3 separate regions of the Homo sapiens genome follow, and all the other regions are linked to region 3. Evidence: promoter capture Hi-C in 16 types of primary human blood cells and fetal thymus (Javierre and others, 2016). All regions are on one chromosome and are shown on one strand. The core of a region is centred on a gene start or on the middle of the fragment in contact, and the rest is flanking DNA. Distances in the headings are between cores, read along the strand shown.

Region 1 (2,700 bases), core at 22-2,521, 140 kb after region 3:
TCTTTGTACAAATTGACAAACTAATCCTACAATTAATATGGAAATGCAAGAGACCAAGAAAAGCCAAACTATTTTGGAAAAAAAAAATAACAAAGTTCCTGGAGGACTCACACTTTCTAATTTCAAAGCTACAATAATCAAAACTTACTACAAACCCAAAATAATCAAAACGGCATGGTATTGGCCTACATATAGACATATTGACCAATGGAATAGAATTAAGAGTTTATAAATAAACCCATACATCTGTGTTGAATTGATTTTCAACCAGGGTGCCAATTCGGTGAGAAACAAACATCCTTTCAACAAATGGCTCTAGGACAACTGGATAGCTACATGCAAAAGAATGAAGTTAGACCCCTTGCCTCACACCATATGTAGAAATCTACATGAAACTAAAACTGCTTTAAAAAATAGTCTATTTATTTAGAAACAGGGTCTTGCTCTGTCACCCAGGCTGGAGTACTCTGACACAACAATAGCTCACTGCAGCTTCAAACTCCTGGGCTCAAGTGATGCTCCTGCCTCAGCCTCCTGATAGCTAGGATTACAGACATATGCCACCATGCCCAGCTATTATTTAATTTTTTGTACAGACCAAGACTGGGTCTTGCCATGTTGCCCAGGCTGGTCTCAAACTGCTGGGCTCAAGTGATCCTCCCACCTCGGCCTCACAGCACACTGCTGCAAATTCCATGAGATGGGTGAAAAACTATGAGTTCCCAACATGTGAGAAGGGGGAAACCTGCCTCTGAACACACATCTCCACTGGGGAACCTCAAAACCCAGATTATGGAAGAAGGATTTAACCTTGCCTAGAGCTGAAATGGATTTAGTATAAAATATAAAAGTAGAAATAGTAGCAGGAAGAGCCTTGTAGGCGCTCCCATTCTCCAGCTTGGGCCAGGGAAGCCATCCCTGACTGTATCTCACCGAGGCCATTGAGGAAGACAGTTGGCAGAATTTGGGCAGGGTCGCAGGGTGAAATAAGCTTCCAACTGAACTGTGTAATAATTTTGACTGGGCGCAAACTCTGTCGAGCAGAAATCGGGGGTGAAAGTGAACTGCTGCAGAAAGGAGCATAGGAGCCACAGCTGACAGTGTGGGCAGACAGGGAGGGGCAAGGCCTGAAAGCCATGCTTGCTTTCTTAGTGGGGAAACTTATACCCTGGGGCTAGGTCTGAGTCCTGCACACCAGCTGCCTGGAGATAAACTGTGCTGTTAGCGGGGCACAGTGGGAGTGAAACTGGCCTTGCCAACTGTGTGGTAGCTGGGTGAGCCCTGTGGCTACTTACTTTCCCCCACTTCCCTGGTGACAGAGGCGCCATAATCCACACTGGAACATAACCCCATTTGCCTGAGAATCAGCCCCCTATCCCCCACAGTGGCTGTGGCAAAAAGAGTCTGAGCTCAGACCTGCCTAATCCTGCCCCAACCTGATGGTATTTCCCTACCCATCCCAGTGCCCAGTCACAAAAGACAAACTCTTGGGAGCTTTATGGCCCTACTTATCACATGAGAAACCTGAACACTTATCCTGACCAACTTAGGGCAAGCTTATATCCCCCTTCTACTATCACAGCTGGTGCTCTCCTGAACATACCACCTCCTGGCTGGAGGCCAACCAACTCAAGATATGACAGCAACTCATGACAAAATAACACTGCTCCAAGGAAGGAAAAAACAGCTAACTCCACTATCTGCAACATCCTGGCTAAACAGAGGTCCTGTCCATGTGGCAACATCACTGCTATCATAACCAGCATTTGAGAAAGCCAGCACACTAAACATCTACAACCAAGGCTTCTCATAGAGTCTATGTCACTACCCTGCCACCTCCCCCAGAGGAGGTGCTGGTATCCATAGCTGGGAGACCTGAAGATGGATTACATCACAACACTCTTTGCAGACACTCCCCAGCATGATCCTGGAGCTTGGAAGCCCCACTGGATGCCTAGACCCAGAAAAGCAATAACAATCACCACAGTCTGGCTCTCAGAAAGCCCCATCCCTAAGGAAAGGGGGAGTGCACCACATCACGGGATCACCCTGTGAGACAAAAGAATCTGAACAGCAGCCCTTGAGTTCCAGATTTTTCCACTAAAATAGTCTACCCAATAAGAAGAAATCAAAAACATAATTCAGGTAATATGACAAAACAAGGTTCTATAACACCCACAAAAGACCACACTAGCTTCCTAGCAATGGATCCAAACCCAGAAGGAATCTCTGAATTGCCACATAAAGAAGTCAGAAGGTTGATTATTAAGCTACTGAAGGAGATACTAGAGAAAGGTGAAAACCAACTTAAAGAAATGTAAAAATCAAGCCAGGTGCGGTGGCTCACGCTTGTAATCCGAGCACTTCGGGAAGCCAAGGCAGGTCACTTGAGGCCAGGAGTTTGAGACCAGCCTGGCCAACATGGCAAAACCCTGTCTGTACTAAAACAAAAACAAAAATTAGCCTGGCTTGGTGGTACATCCCTTTGGTCCCAGCTACTCAGGATGCTGAGGTGGAAGGATCACTTGAACATAGGAGGTAGAGGTTGCAGTGAGCCAAGATCATGCAACTGCCCACCAACCTGGGTGACAAGCAAGACCCTCTCTCAAAACAAAACAAAAAGTTAAAAAAAAATACAGGACATGGATGAAAAATTCCCCAGAGGTATAGATATCATAAAGAAAAAACAATTGGGCCGGG
Region 2 (2,700 bases), core at 133-2,632, 140 kb before region 3:
AGTCAACTAGATATCTCATCTTTTGAAGGCAATTTATGTATTAATACTTCTCCCTGCTCTAGCCAACAGCATCTTTATACTTCTAGGTTTCTTCGCCACGCCTTTTTGCCCACACTTCTCAAAACAAGGTTTGGGGGCTAAATCTGTTGCTTCATTTGACAAAGAGAGTCACATGTGATAAGCAAACATACAGGCATTTTAAATTCCAAAATGTAAACATATAATTAAAATTCTACTGCCATTACCACATTCCCTTTGATTGATCACCTGGCTTCCTAAATCTTAGAAAAAATTCTGGTACTCAGTTTATTCCATAAATAACAGCAGCAGCAAAACCAAAACAATCCTCAAACAATAATAGCAGAGCTGCAACTGCAAATAAAATGTCTAAGTTTTAATATACTTTATGAAATTTAATCTTCTCAGTAATGCCTGAGATAAGTGTTATTTATGTATAGAGATAGGACTCTTCCTGTGGCTGCAAGCAATCCTCCTGCCTCAGCCTCCCATGAGGCTGGAACTACAAGCATGCGCCACCATGCCCAGTTTGAGGCAAGTATTATTATTCCGATTTTACAGATAATAAACAAGAACTCAGGGATTAAATTACTTGCTCTGACCCCAATGAGTGGCAGAGGCAGATGTCAAATGGATGTCAAACTCCAGAACCCACCTTCTTTCTATCAGTAATATATACTATTATCTTACATCAACACAGTGCATTAAGAAAGGTCTAGTGTACGTCTGCATAGTTTCATCACACAACTAAACTAGTCAGGGCTCCCACACTGAGAAAATGGAAAAGTTTACTTTTGGAATAAAGCAGGCTAGTTACAGACTGGGTTGGGCTTTTTCACCTTGCCCAAACCAGTCTCAGTGTGGTAAGCACACCTCACTCACTGGTGATTCGTTCGTGTTTTGATTTTAAAAACACCTTAACAATTTAAGCACCCCTCCCTCCAAAATGTGAAACACCCCAATATACTGAGCTAAGGAAAACAAAATATTAAAAATGCTAAAATCAATTAATCTGGGTTATATCAGCTTGTTATAAGTTTAAAATGCTTCAAAAGTGCTTTCACAAACATGGTTGTATGGACTTAGAGAATGAATTATGTTGTCTGAAAAGTCCCCAGGTACTGTTTACATAAAATATTCTCCAGAGATGAGTCTAATATGAGAATTTACTGTATAAATTTCAGACTGAAGGGCTCTTCTGTATTTGGAATACCTACCCTAAAAAAATTAAAGCAGGACATTCACAGAAGAACTTGGTTTAAGATCACAAAACGCTTTTAAATCACCAAGATTTCCTCAATCCCTGATATAACCTTTAAAAAACTCTGGAAATGAAGGATGAGGCAGAACAAAGTTTATTTATACAGACATGTATTTTATGTTTAGTGTGTTAAATGATCTAGATAAGAATGGTACTAGTTTTCATACAGTTTAAAATAATTTTAAATCTTATCAATTTTAGATCTTAGAGTAGTGATAAATACTACATCACAATTCTAAGTATTTTAATTTATTTAGGCACTACCTTCATTTTGACAGTGCTTCAAGAACGTCTCATATTCTTGGGTAAGGCAGCTGCATCACTTACAAAAGCAACTATATTTATAAATGTTCAACGGATGCTACATCAAAACAGGGAATTTAAATAAAAGTGAATCTACCTCCAAAAAGGATTAATCTGCAGTGCCCTAATGTAGAGTTTGAGGACATCTATTTTAATACTGTCCTATGATACATCTATTTGAATCAAAAGTAATGCTTTACTAGTTAGTGCTGAATGTTACTGAAAGCCAAATAGTTTAGAGCCACGGATATCTTGGATGATTAAAAAAAAAAAAAAAATCCAGAGGGTGCCAGAATACAGACATGCATCTGCTAAGTAAGTTGAACCACATCATAATTTGCATAGATAGGTAAAAAAGCGCCCTTCTAAAATAAGAGCCAAGGAATTATCGAATAACTATGGAAGCCTTCTGCCAACCCCCTAAAAGAGACACTAAAGCCCTGGTAGTCAAGACACTAAGACGGCCCCTAAGATTCCCCATAACGTATTACACCCTATATAACCTCTCCCACCCTTAGAGTGAGCGGGACTTGTGAATATAATGGATATCACTCCCATGATTGTGTTACACGGCAGAAGTGATTTTCAAAAATGTAATTGAGGCCCTTAATCAGTTGACTTTGAGTTAATCCAAAGGGAGATTATCCTGGATGGGCCTGACCTCATCAGGCAAGCCCTTAAAAGGCATCAGAGAGATTCAAAATGAGAGAGATTCTATGGCTGGTTTTGTTTTAATTTCTCCATTTCTGAAGAAGAGTTTTGCCAAACAGTGAATTCTTGGCTGAGCGCTTTCTTTCTTTCAGTACCTTCAATGTCATCCACTGCCTTCTGTCCTTTGTGGTTTCTGAAGAGAAATGAGCTGTTAATCTTATTGAGGAACTTGTGCATGGGATGAGTTTCTCCCCTCTTGCTGCTTTCAGGATTCTCTCTTTGGCTTTCAGCAATTAGATGTTATGTGTCTAGGTGTGAATCCTTTTATTAAAAAATCTTGGCTGGGCGCAGTGGCTCACGCCTGTAATCCCAGCACTTTGGGAGGCCAAGGTGGGCGGATCACGAGGTCAGGAGTTCGAGACCAGCCTGACCAACATGGTGAAACCCCTTCTCTACTAAAAATACAA
Region 3 (2,700 bases), core at 184-2,683:
ACAGAGTCTTTAGCATCTCCTAGTCTGTCTATTAGACTTGGCAGCACTGAAAATCAAAATGGAAACTGATCAAATGAAACCCTATTTGGGGGTCTGTGGTCACCAAGTATTCCTATCTCAATTATGTGGGAAGACAAACCCCTGACCTAAATGATGTATCTCATTCTAAAACCACTCATCTTTGCTCACAGCTCTACTCTCCTTGCTGAAGTCCATGAAAGTCACCAAAAGAGTCTGCAAAATCCTTTGCATGGACAGATACACTATTTGTCTTCCTCCTTACCCCACGTTCCTCCAGCCAGTTCCCAACGTATTTGTAAGCTGATAAAAATGGAAGACCTTGAGAGGAAGAGTCAACAGAAAGGAAAATTTAGGTAAAACACAAGGAGAGGGGCTCCAGTATATGTGTTTGGGGGTGGAAGGAGTGGGCACTTATGAATAAATCTTAAGTTTCATCACTATTGTGTATTTTTAGTTTTACATCACGCCCATACACACATGAGACAGAGCCCAGCTCTCCATCTTCCCCGACATACCCAGGGTGGACCCTCCCACCAGTGGTCCAAGTGCACCTGTAGACCAGAGATCAGCTTATTTTAAGAGTTTGTAAACCTCTATTACATGAGATATCCCTGAATAATTCAGCTAATTTAGGAGGAAAATGGAACACTATTAAAATATCAAATGTCTAAAAGTAAAAGCTTTTTTTAAATTTGTAAACAGTCGGTGCTCATGACCTTTTCAGAAGGAGCATATTGGTCGGAAAGTTAACAGTAAAGAATACATGTGTACCAACGTAAAACAGAGAAATTCCATAAGGAAATGGTTGCATAGAGATGCTTAGTGTTTATACTACCCCCATGAAACACCGGAGGTCAGGAATTTAGAGGTATTTAAATCTATGAAATCTGTGGGTTTTGTTTCATTTTGCTGACATACTGTTTTCCCTTCAAAATAAGAGTGAACATTTACTATACATTTGTAATGACATTTACAATCAAGGTGAAAATAGTCATGCCAACCATAATCATCTGGAGAAAAATACAACTGGCTTGGTTTTATAGGATTTCTCAAGGAAAACTGCCTCTCATTAAAGGGGACCGGGGTCAGGGTAAAATATGACTTGGTTGGCACTAAAGAGTGACAGCTAATTTAGCATAAGAAATAAAAATGGCACTAATATTTCATATTAGAACACGTATTACTAAGTTCCGTGTGAGAACACAGTGAAGCCAGTACAAAGGTATGGGGGAGGGTAAGGGCGCCCGCAGGCCCAGAGGCCAGGGGAGTCCAGCTGGAAGGGAAGGCAGCGGGGCGGCCGACCCAGGCTGCGAGTGCTTAGGGGGGCTGCGGGGGAGGGCGGGGACTGGCTGTTTGGGAGGAGCGGAAGGGAGGGAGAGGGGGCTGGAGGGGAGGCAGGGTGGCTGCCGGGAGGGTTTGGGAGCCGGGGAGGCCGAGGGAAGGCTGGGGGTCTGAAGGGGCCGGGTCCGCTCCACAAGTGCCGCAGCTCACCTGTGCCGATCTGCGCCTTGAACCGATCCTGCAGCCGGGTCACCAGGGCGGACAGGATGTCCATGCCCAGCAGAACCACCTGCAGCGGGAAACACCGGGAGCCTGTTAGCAGCCGGCCTGCGGGGCAGCGCTCCCGCCCACCCGCTCCGGGGAGGCCTAGACATTTCCGGCCCAGACGCAGTCCGAGAGTCCAGACGCATGCCGACTGGAGGACCAAAGAGATTAGCACGAAGAAGGATGATCTTCCACAAAAAGAGCTATGTACAGCTATAATGGAAAATACTCGGTGAGGAGAAACGAAATAAAAGGCAATACAGCGTAGCCAAACCCGGGTTAGCTGCGGGTGGAGTTCAAGAGCGCGCCGCGGTCCCGCCCCCGCCAGCCCCGCCCCGGCGAGAAAAGCGTATGCAAATTTTCGAGCGGCCGACGCGCGGTCTTCTGGGTAAAACCGAGCCGCCGCTTTTGCGACCCTTCGGGAGCCTCAGAAAACAAAGAATTGGGGTGTCGTCGAAAGCTGTGGAGGCTGGAGGTAAGCTAGCTACCAGACCGACTAGGGCGAGGCTCACGAATTAATTACCACAACCCTACCAGGTATTGGCGCTTCCTGCTTGCAGCCCAGGGACTTTCTATTATAACCATCCTTTTCTTGGGGTTGCGCTACTGTCCAATGAGCGCATAGTGAGGGCAGTACTGCTAACGCCTGAACAACACACCCGCATCAACTAGAGCTTTTGCTTTATTTTGGTGCAATTTTTGGAAAAATGAAAACCTGTTTTCATAGACTTATCAGTTCAAACAGCAGTAATTCGTAAATAAACTAGTACTTTGTGGTTAAACCAGTAGAGGGTGCACAAGACGCGTGGTTTTAGTGTCGCAAGTAAAGTTCTTTCAGTTTTTGCGGTGATTAAACGGGAAGGATTTCAACAGAACTTCACCCCTTTAACTTTACGCCGATCATCAACTGTTCTGTAACTTCCTTATGCTGAGTCAGCCCAGTAGTCTAGGTCAAGTTTCAATAGGAGACGAAGTTTCAGTAGGTCTTTGCACCTCACATAAAATGTAATCCAGGTCGGGCGCGGTGGCTCACGCCTGCAATCCCAGCACTTTGGGAGGCCGAGGGGGGCGGATCACGAGGTCAGGAGATCGAGACCATCCTGGCTAACACAGTGAAACTCCGTCTCTCCTAAA

What was found. The method cuts DNA at HindIII sites, captures the fragments that hold promoters and counts their contacts. A CHiCAGO score of 5 or more calls a contact.
Region 1: a contact is called between a fragment that was not itself captured here and the fragment with the promoter of CLASP1-AS1 in region 3, in 6 of 17 cell types (total CD8 T cells, naive CD8 T cells, naive B cells and 3 more). The highest score is 8.5, in total CD8 T cells.
Region 2: a fragment that was not itself captured here is called in contact with the fragment with the promoter of CLASP1-AS1 in region 3 in 4 of 17 cell types (naive CD8 T cells, endothelial precursors, total CD4 T cells and 1 more); the score reaches 7.7 in naive CD8 T cells.

What each region holds. Positions count from the first base shown.
Region 1 is chr2:121,668,753-121,671,452 of GRCh38, forward strand. All of the region lies in intron 2 of NIFK-AS1 (NIFK antisense RNA 1), which reads left to right. Among named protein-coding and RNA genes, the nearest start is that of NIFK-AS1, 20 kb to the left of the region's middle. The HindIII fragment of the contact is 565 bases long and covers 990-1,554 here.
Region 2 is chr2:121,392,028-121,394,727 of GRCh38, forward strand. All of the region lies in intron 31 of CLASP1 (cytoplasmic linker associated protein 1), which reads right to left. Among named protein-coding and RNA genes, the nearest start is that of TFCP2L1, 110 kb to the left of the region's middle. The HindIII fragment of the contact is 4,518 bases long and covers 1-2,700 here.
Region 3 is chr2:121,528,735-121,531,434 of GRCh38, forward strand. It overlaps CLASP1-AS1 (CLASP1 antisense RNA 1), which reads left to right and starts at 1,434. Exons shown (of 2, transcript XR_001739683.2): 1 at 1,434-2,041. CLASP1 (cytoplasmic linker associated protein 1) reads right to left here. Exons shown (of 41, transcript NM_001395891.1): 3 at 1,513-1,591; 4 at 1-46. RNU4ATAC (RNA, U4atac small nuclear) reads left to right here and starts at 2,146; the gene lies at 2,146-2,275. RefSeq lists a silencer at 1,304-1,503 and an enhancer at 1,694-1,823. The HindIII fragment of the contact is 3,511 bases long and covers 700-2,700 here.